Linked DNA regions of Homo sapiens: regions 2, 3 and 4 are each linked to region 1. The links are contacts of gene promoters, found by promoter capture Hi-C in blood cells and fetal thymus (Javierre and others, 2016). All regions are on one chromosome and are shown on one strand. Each heading gives the region's core, a stretch centred on a gene start or on the middle of the fragment in contact. The rest is flanking DNA. Distances are from core to core; before and after follow the strand shown. Region 1 holds the start of POM121L2 (POM121 transmembrane nucleoporin like 2). Region 2 overlaps LINC01012 (long intergenic non-protein coding RNA 1012). Region 3 holds the start of TRI-AAT8-1 (tRNA-Ile (anticodon AAT) 8-1). Region 4 has its middle 9.7 kb from the start of TRV-AAC3-1.

Region 1 (3,363 bases), core at 308-2,807:
TGAAGGCGGCCAGGTGGTGTCAGTAACTGGTAATGTGGGAGAGGTGGGGGTCAGCAGGATGAAAGTAGCTGTGGGCTTTGAGTCTGGAGAGGTGCCTGGAAGGAGCTCTGACTGTGAGCACCCAGGTGGGGTCGGTAGGCTGGGTGTCTTCAAAGGAGAATGGGCCACACTGGTTGCCTCTCCCGTGGACTGTGGAGAGGCCAGTGGACCTAGAGACTTCTGCATTTTTCTTAAGTTTTCCAACTGAGGATTTGCTCCCTGGGTTAGATCTGTTTCTGAAGAAGGCAGAGCAAGAGACAAGGAAGGCTGAATAGCAAGCCAAGTCTCAGGGAAAGGGTCTGTGTTGACCTCAGTTGTATCTTCTCCTGCGTTGTTGCTTACCTGTAGCTCAGCTTTCTTCCCCAAAGTCAAGTTCTCATCAGAGACTGCATAACCAAGCTGGGGAGGTGGGATCTCTGACACCAGGTTCTCAGGGCTAGACGGCAGCTGTGGAATCTTCTGGTTTTGCTGCCCAGAACTTTCAGATCCTCCTAGGGACTCAAAATCTGATACCAGTGGGACTGGAGAGGAAGGCCGATGACAACTTTTTTCCTTTTTTATTGGCCACTCTGGTGTCTCGAATGATACACTGGGAACACTTCTCTTCCAAGGGTCTGAGAAATTTCTGCAAGAGCTGTAAGAGCTGCCAATAGCATTCCTTTTGGAGCTGAGGGTGCCACCTCTGTATATGCTGGCCAAGGAGCTCATGGAGGAGCAATTGGGCCTCTTAGTCAAGCTGTGATCTGAGCCCCAGGAGTGGAGACTTCTCTTCAGCGGCCCAGGCCTGGGCACAAAAGAAGTGAGGGTTCCATTTTTCATCAGGGGCTTAAATGCCGATGGTCTGGTCTCTGGACTCCTTCTCTTACTGTCCAGACTCTCAGGGAATAGTGGTTCTTCCAACCTCCCTTTCCCTTTTCTGCACTCTCTGAGGGCCCTCAACACTGTCTCCTTTGAACATGGATCTGCGAGCTCCTCAGAGGGCGGGAGTCCTGCAAGGGCAATTACATCTTCAGGAGAAGTGGAAGGGGGCACTCTCTGGTCAGGAGGAGTGATCCTGATGGTCACTGGGCTCCAAATTGGCCTGGGATGTCGAAGAGACCAAATAGTCCGCTTTAAGTAACTTTCCCACCAGTCTGAAGGGAGAGGCCCCAGGGGGGAATTCTGGGACTTCTTCATGGGAAAGCGCCTCCAGGCCTCGTTGGCCAGCCACGTGGTTGGATTGGCAGGATCCAGGTTTGGCCGCCTCCTCACAGGTCTATACCGTGGGGCAGGGTGGGCGCGGTGGACGAACTGAACCCGATGAACTTGGTGAAGGGGCTGAGGTGGCCGGCGTTTCGTGGGCCTCTCGGGCAAGTCGGTGCGCACCTGGGCTGGGGACGAGGGCGAAAGTTCCAGTTTGCTCAGGAAACTGCCCATGAGGAGAGATGAGGCGCGGGCAGTGAGTTCAAGCACGGTTTTGGCTTCCGAGGTTTCGGACGTCTGCAGAATCGGACAGAGTCGAAGAGCGCAGTGTTCGGTTGACGGTTGGGATTCACGCGCTAGGAAAGCGCGAGTCTCAGGGTGCTTAGCACTCTCCAGGCCCGGCACCCGCGGGAACGGGGGACACGCGGGACTTCGGCAGTCCCAGTAACTTGCTTTGCTGTTCTGAGACCTCAGCGGGGCGGTCAGACCTCTGCTGTCTCCGCAGCGAGTTGCAGTACTTGGCGCGGGGAGAGGAACTCGAGAGGAAGCTCACTGCGCCTCGCCCCTGGCGTCGGCAGCGGCTGTCTGGGACCCTGTGGTCCGGATTCACCAAGTGGCGCAGAGCTGGAATCGAGTGGGTGCACAGTTTCCAGGCTCCGACTATTACTGGCCTCGAAGGTACAGGCTCAGGCGGCTCAGGGCCCCGGCGCAGATCTGTCGGCCCGCGGGATCCCCGGAGTCTGAGTGGGGAGCACTATCCGCACCCCGTAGAGTGAGTGCGGGCGGCTTTCGCAGGTGCTCAGGACTGGAGATCTGGACCGGTGGCTGTGCCGCCCGGATGGCATTTGTGGCACTAGCAGTCGGGAAAGCAGCTGATTGAGGATTTCCGCGTTTCTCTTTTTTTGCAGATCGTGACGCCGCCAGTAGGTGTCAGTCATTTGCCGCACAGCCACCTTTGAGATCCACCTGTGTCTCCCAGCGGCCGAATCCAGGTTTCCTTCCTATTCGCACTTGGAGAACTCATGCAGATTGCCGTCAGGAGTGGCCTCAGAGATCCGGAGTGGGCGAATGGGAAATCGCATCTTACGGCCCAGAACCTGAGCCCTCCACAAGCACTTGGCTCAGTCCCTTGCTCAGGCCACCTCCTGTTCTCTTCTGCTCTGTGAAAGACACTGTTAAGAGAATGAAAAGACACGCCACAGACTGGAGAAAATATTTGCATAATACGTATGTATCTGCTGAAGCACTGGTATACAAAATATACATAGAATGTTAAAACTCATAATAAGGTAAAAAATTAATGGGCAAAATATTTAAACAGAAACCCCGCCAAAGAAGATATGCAGATGGTAAACAGTATAAAAAGATGCCAAACATCATTGACATATGCTATATGTCAATATTTAGCTATATATAACTAAACATCAGTAAATACTTCTGATTGCAATTTAAACATCAGTAAGATACCATAATTGCAAATTAAACATCAGTAAGATATTACTACACACCATTCAATTGGCTAAAATTCAAAACACCACATGCTAAGGAGGAGGTGGAGTAACAGGTACTCTCATTCATTACTGATGAGAATGCAAAATGGTACAGCCACTTTGGAGGACAGTATGGCAATTTCTTACAAAGCTAAAACACAGTCCTACAATACAATTCAACCACCACAATCCACGTGTTTATCCAAATGAGCTTAAAGTGAATGTCCACATAAGGACCTGCATGTGAATGTTTATAGAAGTTTTATTCATAGTTGCCAAAAATTGGAAGCAACCAAGAAGTCCTTCAACAGGCAAATGAATAAACTGTGGCATAACCATACAATGGAATATTATTCAACACTAAAAAGAAATGCACTATCAAGTCACGAAAAGATATAGAGGAACCTAAAATCCATATTGCTAAGTGAATGGAACCATCTGAAAAGGCTACATATGACTTCAAATATATGACAATCTGGAAAAGGCAAAACAATAGAGATAGCAAACAGAGTGCAACCGTGGTTGCAGGAGAGGTGGTAAAGAAATGTGGGATACCATTAAGCACACCAACATACACAAAATGAAAGCACTAGGAAAGGAAAGAGAGAAAGGAGTAGAAAAAATTGTCAAAGAGAGTGGCTGAAAACTTCCC
Region 2 (3,363 bases), core at 556-3,055, 390 kb after region 1:
CACAGTTCTGGAGGCTAGAAATCCAAAATCAAGGTTTCAGTAGAGTTGATTCCTTCTGAGGGCAATGAGGGAAAGATCTGTTCCAGCTTCTCTGCTTGGCTTGTAGATAGCCATTCTTTCCTATGTCCCTTCACCTTGTATTCTCTCTTGGTATGTCTGTATCCAAATTTTCCCTTTTTAAAAGGACACCGGCCATATTAGGATGGGTTAGGTCACATTCTAATGACCTACTTTCAGTTGACCTCACTGTAACTCTCTAAAGGCACTGTCTCCAAATAAGGGTCACATTCTGAGGTACCAAGTTTTAGGACTTCAACGTATGAATTTTGGTGGAACACAGTTCAACCCATGATATCTGCTAGTAAGGGAGCTTGCAAATATGACTAATTTCTAACCAGTTTCTAACATCCCATTTGACAGCAGGGAATTCCATATTTAAGGAAACTATTCATATTAACATTTAACATGGTTTTATGGCCGCCCAAAATCAATTTGTCACACTTCTCTTTTTTGATGTTTAAAGGGCACAGACACCAAAAGCTGAGACTCTGAACTTGATCAGCGTATTTTCAAATTTCAGGAATTCTTCTCATCAGAGAGCCTAACTTGGAAATGACCATTTACCTTTTCCAAATTTTCTTAACCCATAAAGAGGTTAAGGCCAACATAAGGGAGCTAATACATCTGCTGATTGAAAGTCAGATTATCTCAACTGCAAAAAAAAGTTGGGGCTTGAGTTAGATATTAAAAAAATAAAAATGATTCACTGTGAAAAGTGGTACAAAACTATGTTAAACATAACATTGTTGGGACAAAACAAAAATTAATTTTATTGAAAGACTGACTTTTTAAAGTTTTTTAGCTTGTTATTTTATTTCTTTTTTGTTGTTGTTTCTTTGAGATAGTGTCTCAGTCTGTCCCGCAGGCTGGAGTGCAGTGGCACGATCTTGGCTTACTGCAACCTCCACCTCCTGGGTTCAAGTGATTCTTGTACCTCAGCCTCCTAAGGAGCTGGGATTACAGACATGCACCACCACACCCTGCTACATTTTATTTTTTTGTATGTATTTTTAGTAGAGATGGAGTTTTACCATGTTGCCCAGGCTGGTCTCGAACTCCTGGGCTCAAGCAACCCTCCCGCCTCGGCCTCCCAAAGTGCTGGGATTACAGGCTTGAGCCACTGCGCCCAGCCTAGCTCGTTATTTTAAAAAGTATTCCCCATTTCTTGTAAATCGCTTGTTCTCTGCACAGTGGAACATTCTCTTGGCTGATTTGTAGATGGGAAGGCTCTTTCTACCGAACTCAGACTCATTACTGTCAGGAGTAGCAAACGTTAACTTTCTAAATGCATTTTACCCAGAATATAAACCTATGTGCTATTCTTAAATAGATTTAAACTTTCTCAATTCTAACATTTTAATAATTTTAGAACTCATTTCCAACCTGTTTTATACACTGTTCAGCTGATACTTCACAATTAGTACTTTTGATCTAAGTGTTTTCAGGGTGAGATTCCAGATGATCCCAGTAGTTTTGTTGATAAGTCTTCCGTCTTCCCATTAAGTGAAAGTCATATGTTGAAGAATGCAAATCCTTCAGTGTTTAGGTTTTACTCCTGAATTAGTCAGTCTTTCAGACACCCCAGAATAAATCCAGTTACTGCCTCTCATCTTTAAAAACCCTTCTGGTTTCTTCAGTCAGAGAACACAAATCTCCAAGTATTATTGCCAGGCTGAAATTCAGGACACAGCAACTTATTTCGGATGTTAATGTTCCTTGCTCCCCAACTTTATGCAAATGACAAAGGACGAAAACATACAAGGACATGCTTTGGGAGTCCAGGGTGGGAGGATCGCTTGAGCCCAGGAGTTCAAGACCAGCCTGGTCAACATAGTGAAACCTCATCTCTACAAAAAAAATTGAACTTAGCTATGTATATTGGCACATGCCTGTAGTCCCAGCTACTCAGGTTACTGAGGTGGGAGATTGGCTTGAGCCTAGGAATTTGAGGCTGTAGTGAGCCATTATGGTGCGATTGCACTCCAGCCTGGGTGACAGAGGAAGATTCTGTCTCACAAAAAAAAAAAAAAAAAAAAAAAAAAAAAGTATATTATCTATTTGGGAAATCACATTAAAAACCTACACACACCAGGCCGGGCACGGTGGCTCATGCATGTAATCCCAGCACTTTGGGAGGCCAAGGGGGGCGGATCACGAGGTCAGGAGATCGAGACCGTCCCGGCTAACACGGTGAAACCCCGTCTCTACTAAAAATACAAAAAATTAGCCGCACGTGGTGGCGAGCGCCTGTAGTCCCAGCTACTCGGGAGACTGAGGCAGGAGAATGGCGTGAACCCGGGAGGCGGAGCTTGCAGTGAGCCGAGATCGCGCCTCTGCACTCCAGCCTGGGCGACAGAGCGAGACTTTGTCTCAAAAAAAAAAAAAAAAAATACACACACCAAAGAATATACTTTAGGACAAATTATAGACAAGTATATAATAGTATAAGCAGCATTTACAATGAATTCACAATCTTCTTTTAGAAAAAAGGAAAGGATACAGCAATTAAGAGAGTTCCATGCCCTCAGGTTTTATTATTTGACGTGATGGCAGACAGAGGGGATGAAAAGGAGCAGACATCCTTTTTGTGAAAACATTTAGGCCCTCAAGTCAAGAAACTAGGGCTTGAAAGCCCTTGTTTTTGGACTCTAAGGATCTCATGAAAGCTGTGGACTGACTCTTCAGAAAAATACACATACACTTGATATTTTGCACGAGTTTCTTGGTGTTCATGGGTACCCTTCAGGCAAGTGAAATATATTATCTGTCTCAAACTGCATTCTTCTTTGATTTCCTTCACCACAGTGGCTGGAGAACTAAAAATTCTTTCTTTTTCTGATTTCTCTGTAGTTGGGGTAACATGTGACCTGGATCTGATCATTGTGATTCAAGTCAGCGTCATTTAGGGTTTTCGGGAAACATTTTTTGAAAGGGAGCAACTTGGCTGGAACACTCCATCAATTCTTTGCCCTGTGCATTTTTGCCCTTCTTTCTGCCTCTCAGGAATGCAGAGAGAATTCCTGGAGGAACAGCAGCTATCATACATCCGTGATGAAAGCCATGGGACAAAGGCAATTGAGCAAGAAGACAGGAGCTGGGGACATTCTTGACAGTAGTGCCACCTCTGGATGATTTACCTTGGGACCTCTTATTAAATGAGATAGGACTTCTTCCTGTTTAATCCACTGGAGTGGAATTTTCTGTTACAGTGAATGCAGTCCTAATTGATGATATTGGCTAATACATATTAGCACCTGCTATGTCCCAGTACAGTTTAAGCATTTTATCTACTAATGTTTTAAA
Region 3 (3,363 bases), core at 529-3,028, 360 kb after region 1:
TAATCCCAACACTTTGGAAGGCTGAGGCGGCCGGATCACCTGAGGTCAGGAGTTCGATAGCGGCCTGGACAACATGGTGAAACCCCGTCTCTACTAAAAATACAAAAAATAGACGGGTGTGGTGGCGGGCGCCTGTAATCCCCGCTACTTGGGGAGGGCTGAGGCAGGAGAATCGCTTGAGCCCAGGAGGCGGAGGCTGCAGTGAGCCGAGATCGCTCCACTGCACTCCAGCCTGGGCGACAGAGACTCCGTCTCAAAAAAAAAAAAAAAAAAAAAAAAGAAAGAAAAAGAAAACAATACATATATCTTACAAGACACTTGTGACAGATGTTCCGCTGTGTTGCCTATAATGCAGGTGAAGATAGTAATGATATGCTTGATTATGCATAGATTATTTTAGGGAAGATAAGAAAGTAAGAAATTCGATAGTCTCTGAGGAGGATATGGGGATAGTTAGGATCTAGGATTAACGGAGATTTGATCCTCATTTTATATCATGTTTACGGTTAAGGAAGGACAGAAAACCTTGTATTGAACTCCTCTTTTTGTCTGGAATTACTGCTGGTAACGTTAACACATAGTATTTCATTTGAAGCAAAGTAAAGAATAATACGGTTTTTGGATCCGGGAAACACAATTGAAGGTGGGGGTGGGGTAGAAGAACAGATTTTAATCTTAGGTGTTACTAGCAAAAAATGTGATTTCTCTAGTCCCAGGTGCAGATTTTCTTCAATAGTATTTGGTTTTCGTTACAAAAGAAAGAGCAAGTACCCAGGCTGGTGCTGTTAGAGTCAGGACAGCATGAAGAGCTCTGCCTACCAACAAGCCTCAGGACAGAGTACAGGAATGTTAGAAGATTAGCTCCCATTTATCTGAAGGAGAAAAAAGGGTAATCCTTCCGGTGTTGATGTCATATATGACAAGTTCATTCCCTTGGTATGGCTTTACATGTGAACTTCGGAGGTATATAAACACCAGTCAGAATGTGCAAGAGGGATCCTCAAAAGCCAGAATGTAATTCCTTGCGACCGGTGAAGAGGATGTGTTACTGCAGGAACTGTATCAGAGAGTTTACTTTCAGGTGATTTTTGAGCAAGTAGAAGCCTCAGTTCTTGACACCTAGGATAAAACCTCTTGAGGACTAGAAGAATGAAAAACATCGAAGCTCCTGGTGGTACTTCGGTCTTTAACCGTTGAATACATTAAGAGTAACACTGGAATTCCAACACTTCCTCGCGCCAGCGTCAGTTTTAGAATCAACAAAATCGTTACTTGCTGATTCATTTAACTGCTAATATATTCGTTAAAAGTTTATTAGGCGTCAGTGATCTTGAAAGTTCCAAAAACACGAAGGAAACCCCAGGCACATGTAGAGAGATAGTTCCTGACGCTGCAGGAGGTTTCTTTCAACTTGTCTCCAGGTGATGAAACCAGTAGCCTGACCAAGGATGAAAGAGCGTATCTCACTTATTCTGGCCTCTCCAACTCGGGCTGAAATCCTTCGGTTCCCAAGTTAGAATTTGAGTGACACACAGCAAGTGCTGTTAAATGAGACTTAATACCTAGCGGGGTGCCACCACAACCTTGCCCTTCTGCAAACCTCTGTAGCCCTTTTCTACCACCCTCAAAAAACATACCAGATTTACTATGTAATTCCGGTACTGCTGGGCTACCTCAGTTTCCACCCCTGAATATCTTCGCCGATTACATCAGTGCTTATGTTTGTGACTTCAGAGACACTGAGAAGGCGCGGCTCTTTCCCTCAACCCCATTCGCCTTCCTTTCGGCGGCGTTGTCTTGAACCAACCTGAAAATAATAAGTCCTTAAGTTACAAGTCACTAAAGGGAAGTTTGCAACTTGCGATCCAGTACACTGACATGACTCTAAAAAGAGAAGGCTGCCGACTCTGGGCGTACTGCCTTTGAATTAGCCATACTCCGCAAGGAGCAGTGCCGTTCAAAAAAAAAAATTTGTTGTCTAACAACAACAAAAATAAAATAAAAAGAGGAGGTTCCCTTCACTCACCATTGAAAATCCTATTACAGCGCTTTTTCCACATCCTCTGTCAAAAATTTCTCCGTGAATTTTCTAGTCTGGCTCAGAGTTAAAATAGTTTGGACTTCCTTGCTAAAGTCTGTAAATATAGTCTCAAAGGTCTCTTGAAAGGAGTAAGAAAGAAAAAAGTTCTGTTTTATTTAGAAAAACAAAAATATCAACGAATTTATATATGGTTTCCTTTAAAACAGCAGCGCATTCGTGTGGCCGGTTAGCTCAGTCGGCTAGAGCGTGGTGCTAATAACGCCAAGGTCGCGGGTTCGATCCCCGTACGGGCCACTGGATGCCATAGTGGGGCCCTTCACTTACCTGAAGGGAGGCCTTTTAATTTAAGCCTGTCGAATCACAGGTGCTCCGAATCGAATCCCAGGTGCTCTGAATCCGAAATTAAGACGCCCTCTTATTCGTCAAGCGAGAAGGCTATTTACGTTCGTTTCCCTTTATTGTGAAAAATGAAAAGAACAGGCCGGGCACGGTGGCTCGAATCTGTAATCCCAGCACTTTGGGGGGCCGAGGCGGGGTGATCATTTGAGGTCGGGAATTGGAGACCAGCCTGACCAATATGGTGAAACCCCGTCTCTATTAAAAATACAAAATAAGCTGGGCTCATGCCTGTAATCCCAGCTACTAGGGAGGCTGAGGCAGGAGAATCACTTGAGCCCGGGAGGCGGAGGTTGCGGTGAGCTGAGGCCGTGCCATAGTACCCCAGCCTGGGCCTGGGCAACAAGAGCGAAACTCCGTCTCAAAACAAACAAAGAACAACAAAAAAGATGCAAGCATTAGGAAGAATGTACTGAAGAAAATTGGGTTGGAGTAGTGCGGCAGCTAGGTGGGTGTGTTTTAGGGAATGGGGAATTAAGAAGAGATATGACATTTGCCTGTTTAGTTTTTAGTGAAACGTTAGGAAGCAATATATACTTTTTTCTATTTTTTTCATTCTCAATATTGAAAGGGAGACAATATTATTTTGACGCTTTAAACGAGTTTCGATAGGGAAAGGAAAGCAGGCTCAGCGTGGCCAGTGACTTGGTGAGAGTGTGATACTAATAGCAGCAAGATACGAGGTTTTGTTCCTCGCAATGGCTGTGCTTCATTCTTTTTTTCTGATCCCAGGCAGTTTCCAAGGCAAATAAATGCCCACACCACGTGAGGCTGCCACTGGCTTTCACGGAAAATTTCTCCCCTTTAGCTTAAAGAGTATATAAGTGAATGCGGTGTTTTAAGAATCGCCAGTTCTCCGTTCAACTTGGCCACAGCCCAACACATTTGGACTACCAGGTTTGTGGTTTCATTCGTTTACCCGCAGT
Region 4 (3,363 bases), core at 386-2,885, 330 kb after region 1:
CAGTACAGCGGAGTAAAGTCAGAACTATGGGGAGAGATAAGAAGAATAGAAAGGAAAGGAGGAAAAAATAAGGTGATTTGGATGTGGATGATGAGAAGGGGAAAAAAATGTAAAATGTATCTCTTTTTGGTTATTCCAGATGAGAATATTGGAAATTTTAAGCATTAAAAACTCCAAGGTTCTCCTAGATTTGGCATATACTCCTGCCAAATGAAAGATTGATATATATGCTTGGCTAACAACTAGAATTTGAAATGAGTTTGTTTTAGTCCCCATGTTGGGTAACATCTACTGTGAGATATCACACCACCACCAAAAGGGGCTAAGTATTCTACTTTTAAAATTTTTATCTTCATGTGAAAATGAATCCAATAATTTTTTTTTTTGAGACAGAGTGTCTCTCTGTCACCCAGGCTGGAGTGCAGTGGTGCGATCTCGGCTCACTGCAAGCTCTGCCCCCCGGGTTTACACCATTCTCCTGCCTCAGCCTCCCGAGTAGCTGGGACTACAGGTGCCCACCACCACGCCCGGATAATTTTTTGTATTTTTAGTAGAGACGGGGTTTCACCGTGTCAGGATGGTCTCGATCTCCTGACCTTGTGATCTGCCCGTCTCGGCCTCCCAAAGTGCTGGGATTACAGGTGTGAGCCACCGTGCCCGGCCAGAGTCCAATAATTTTTTAGATTATTTATGGAATATAATTTCAATAGTAGAAAAATTTTCTTTCTCCCTCTTTTTTTTTTTTTCCATTTTGATCTTCTGGATTTCTTTATTGTTTGTTTACTTTTGTTCACCCCTATTTCCATTTCTATTTCTGGTATAAACTGAGAAGATCTGTATCCTTAAAATGCTCCCCTAAGTGATTTTATCCAGAGCATAAATATAGTCTTTTCCATCTCTTGTCATTTCTAAACTGTATTTCATGTAATAGTTTGTTAATTCTTTAAAATTTTGCATAGATAATATGCATGGTTTAAAATATTTTTTGTGTAAAGCTTACCATTTTTCTTATATCCTAGCCACCCAGTTCTCCTCAGAACAGGCTATTGGTTTCTGTTATTAGTTTCCTAGAAAAGCAGAATTATTTATGTTCTGTTCTTTGTCAGATGTCATTCTAGATTAGTTTCTGAGGACGAGCCCATCTCTTCCTGTGTAATGAAAAGCTGGACCACCTAACAGTAGTGTTTTGTTTGTTTTAAGAGATAGCATTTCACTATGTTGCCCAGGCTGGATTCAAGCTCCTAGGCTGAAGGGATCCTCCTGCCTCCGCTTCTCAAGTAGCTAGGACTATAAGTGCCCACCACCCCGCTTGGGTATAGTGTATTTTTTTTTAAGATGAGGCTGGCCACACCCCATAACCTCGTCAGAAATACCAATCATGTGATTTGAATCATGCATTATCAGTCAACCTGAAGACTGAGTTCAAGCAAGACCCTGTCTCAACATAAGAAAAAAACAACACCATCAAAAGCATCCAAATTGGAAAGGAAGAAGTAAAATTGAGCCTGTTTGAAGATAACATGACTTTTTATAGAGACACTCCTAAAGACTCCATTAAAAAGAAGTGTTAATACTAATGAAAAAATTCAATATATTTGCAGAATATAAAATCAACATTCAGAAATCACTTGCATTACTATACAGTAACAATAAACTACATGAAATAATAAACAATAAACTACATAAAAAGAAAAATTAAAGGACAATCCCATTTATAGTAGCACCCCTCCCCCTTAAAAAAGAATTAAACTTAATCATGAAGGTGAAATGTTGTTAATGTTTGTTAAAATTTTCAGTGATGTACAATTAATGCAATCCGTATCCAAATCTATCTGGCAGTTTTTATGAAACAGAAAAAAAGACCATAAAATTCATATAAAACTCATATGAAACTACAAAGAACCCAAAGTCACCAAGTCAATCTTGAGAAAGAACAACAAAGCTGAAGACATCACACTTCCTGATTTCAGCATATACTACAGAGCTACAGTTATTAAAACAGTCTGGTACTAGCATAAAGACAGGTATATAAACCAAAATAACAGAATAGAGAGTCCAGAGATTAATCCATAAATATATGGCCAACTGATCTTTAACAAAGTTGCCAAGAACACACAATGGGAAAAAAACGATCTCTTCAACAAATGATGTTGAGAAAACTAGATATTCACATGAAAAAGAATGAAATTAGACCCTTGTTTACACCATTCACAAAAATTAACTAAAATGGATTAATGACTTAAATCTAAGATCTGCAAATATAAAACTCTGGGAGGAAAGCTTTAGGACATTGGTCTTGGCAATGATTTAATTACTATGACATCAAAATCATAGCCCAAAATAGCAAAAATAGAAAAATGGGATTACATCAAACAAAAGAGTTTCTTTTTCTTTGTTTGTTTGTTTTTTTTTGAGATGGAGTTTCGTTCTTGTTGCCCTGGCAGAAGTGCAATGGTGCAATCTTGGCTCACCGCAACCTCCACCTCACGGGTTCAAGTGATTCTCCTGCCTCAGACATGTGCCACCATACCCAGCTAATTTTGTATTTTTAGTAGATACAGAGTTTCTCCATGTTGGTCAGGTTGGTCTCAAACTCCCGACCTCAGATGATCCACCCACCTCGGCCTCCCGAAGTGCTGGTATTATAGGCCTTCTGCACAGCAAAAAAAAAAAAAAAAAGCAACCTATTAAATGGGAAAACAAATTTGCAAACCATATATCTGATAAGGGGTTAATTTCCAAGATACATAACTCTTACAATTCAGTAGTTAATCAAAACAAATAAAAACAAAAACCTGGTTAAAAATAAAAATGGGCCCGGTGTGGTGTCTCACACCTGTAATCCTAGCACTTTGGGAGGCTGAGGCGGGCAGATCACCTGAGATCGGGAGTTTGAGACCAGCCTGACCAACATGGAGAAAACCCGTCTCTACTAAAAATACAAAATTAGTTGGGCGTGGTGGCGCATGCCTGTAATCCCAGCTGCTCTGGAGGCTGAGGCAGGAGAATCACTTCAACCCCGGAGGCAGAGGTTGCAGTGAGCCAAGATTGCGCCATTGCACTCCAGCCTGGGAAACAAGAGCAAAATTCCGTCTCAAAAAACAATAATAGTAATAAAAATGTACTAAGGACTTGCATAGACATTTCTCCAAAGACGATATACAAATAGCCAACAACCATATGAAAAGACGCTCAATGTCACTAATCATCGAGGGAATGCAAATCAAACCAAAAGTGAGATATCATCTTATACCTGTTAGGATAACTATTATCAAAAAAACAAAAGACAAGTGTTGGTGAGTTCGTAGAGAAATTGGAACTTTCTACCCTGTTAATGAGATTGCGAAATGGTGCAGCCACTGT

What was found. The method cuts DNA at HindIII sites, captures the fragments that hold promoters and counts their contacts. A CHiCAGO score of 5 or more calls a contact.
Region 2: a fragment that was not itself captured here is called in contact with the fragment with the promoter of POM121L2 in region 1 in 3 of 17 cell types (naive CD4 T cells, M1 macrophages and naive CD8 T cells); the score reaches 8.3 in naive CD4 T cells.
Region 3: a contact is called between a fragment that was not itself captured here and the fragment with the promoter of POM121L2 in region 1, in 7 of 17 cell types (total B cells, naive B cells, total CD4 T cells and 4 more). The highest score is 13.0, in total B cells.
Region 4: a contact is called between a fragment that was not itself captured here and the fragment with the promoter of POM121L2 in region 1, in 2 of 17 cell types (erythroblasts and M2 macrophages). The highest score is 5.3, in erythroblasts.

The regions. Positions count from the first base shown.
Region 1 is chr6:27,310,716-27,314,078 of GRCh38, forward strand. POM121L2 (POM121 transmembrane nucleoporin like 2) reads right to left here and starts at 1,558. Exons shown (of 1, transcript NM_033482.4): 1 at 1-1,558. The coding sequence starts at 1,455. LOC105375107 reads left to right here and starts at 1,454. Exons shown (of 3, transcript XM_011515048.2): 1 at 1,454-1,477; 2 at 1,608-1,899; 3 at 2,130-3,021. The coding sequence starts at 1,454. The coding sequence ends at 2,497. RefSeq lists a silencer at 1,615-1,909. The HindIII fragment of the contact is 14,547 bases long and covers 1-3,363 here.
Region 2 is chr6:27,703,729-27,707,091 of GRCh38, forward strand. All of the region lies in intron 2 of LINC01012 (long intergenic non-protein coding RNA 1012), which reads left to right. All of the region lies in intron 1 of LOC124901291 (a long non-coding RNA gene), which reads right to left. Among named protein-coding and RNA genes, the nearest start is that of LINC01012, 11 kb to the left of the region's middle. The HindIII fragment of the contact is 4,279 bases long and covers 1-3,363 here.
Region 3 is chr6:27,666,322-27,669,684 of GRCh38, forward strand. It overlaps TRI-AAT8-1 (tRNA-Ile (anticodon AAT) 8-1), which reads left to right and starts at 2,262; the gene lies at 2,262-2,335. LOC124901292 (a long non-coding RNA gene) reads right to left here and starts at 2,252. Exons shown (of 2, transcript XR_007059535.1): 1 at 2,027-2,252; 2 at 651-1,807. RefSeq lists a cis regulatory region at 2,120-2,638 and silencers at 2,198-2,480, 2,227-2,416. The HindIII fragment of the contact is 4,511 bases long and covers 1-3,363 here.
Region 4 is chr6:27,639,610-27,642,972 of GRCh38, forward strand. No RefSeq gene overlaps it. Among named protein-coding and RNA genes, the nearest start is that of TRV-AAC3-1, 9.7 kb to the right of the region's middle. RefSeq lists an enhancer at 2,999-3,363. The HindIII fragment of the contact is 1,285 bases long and covers 994-2,278 here.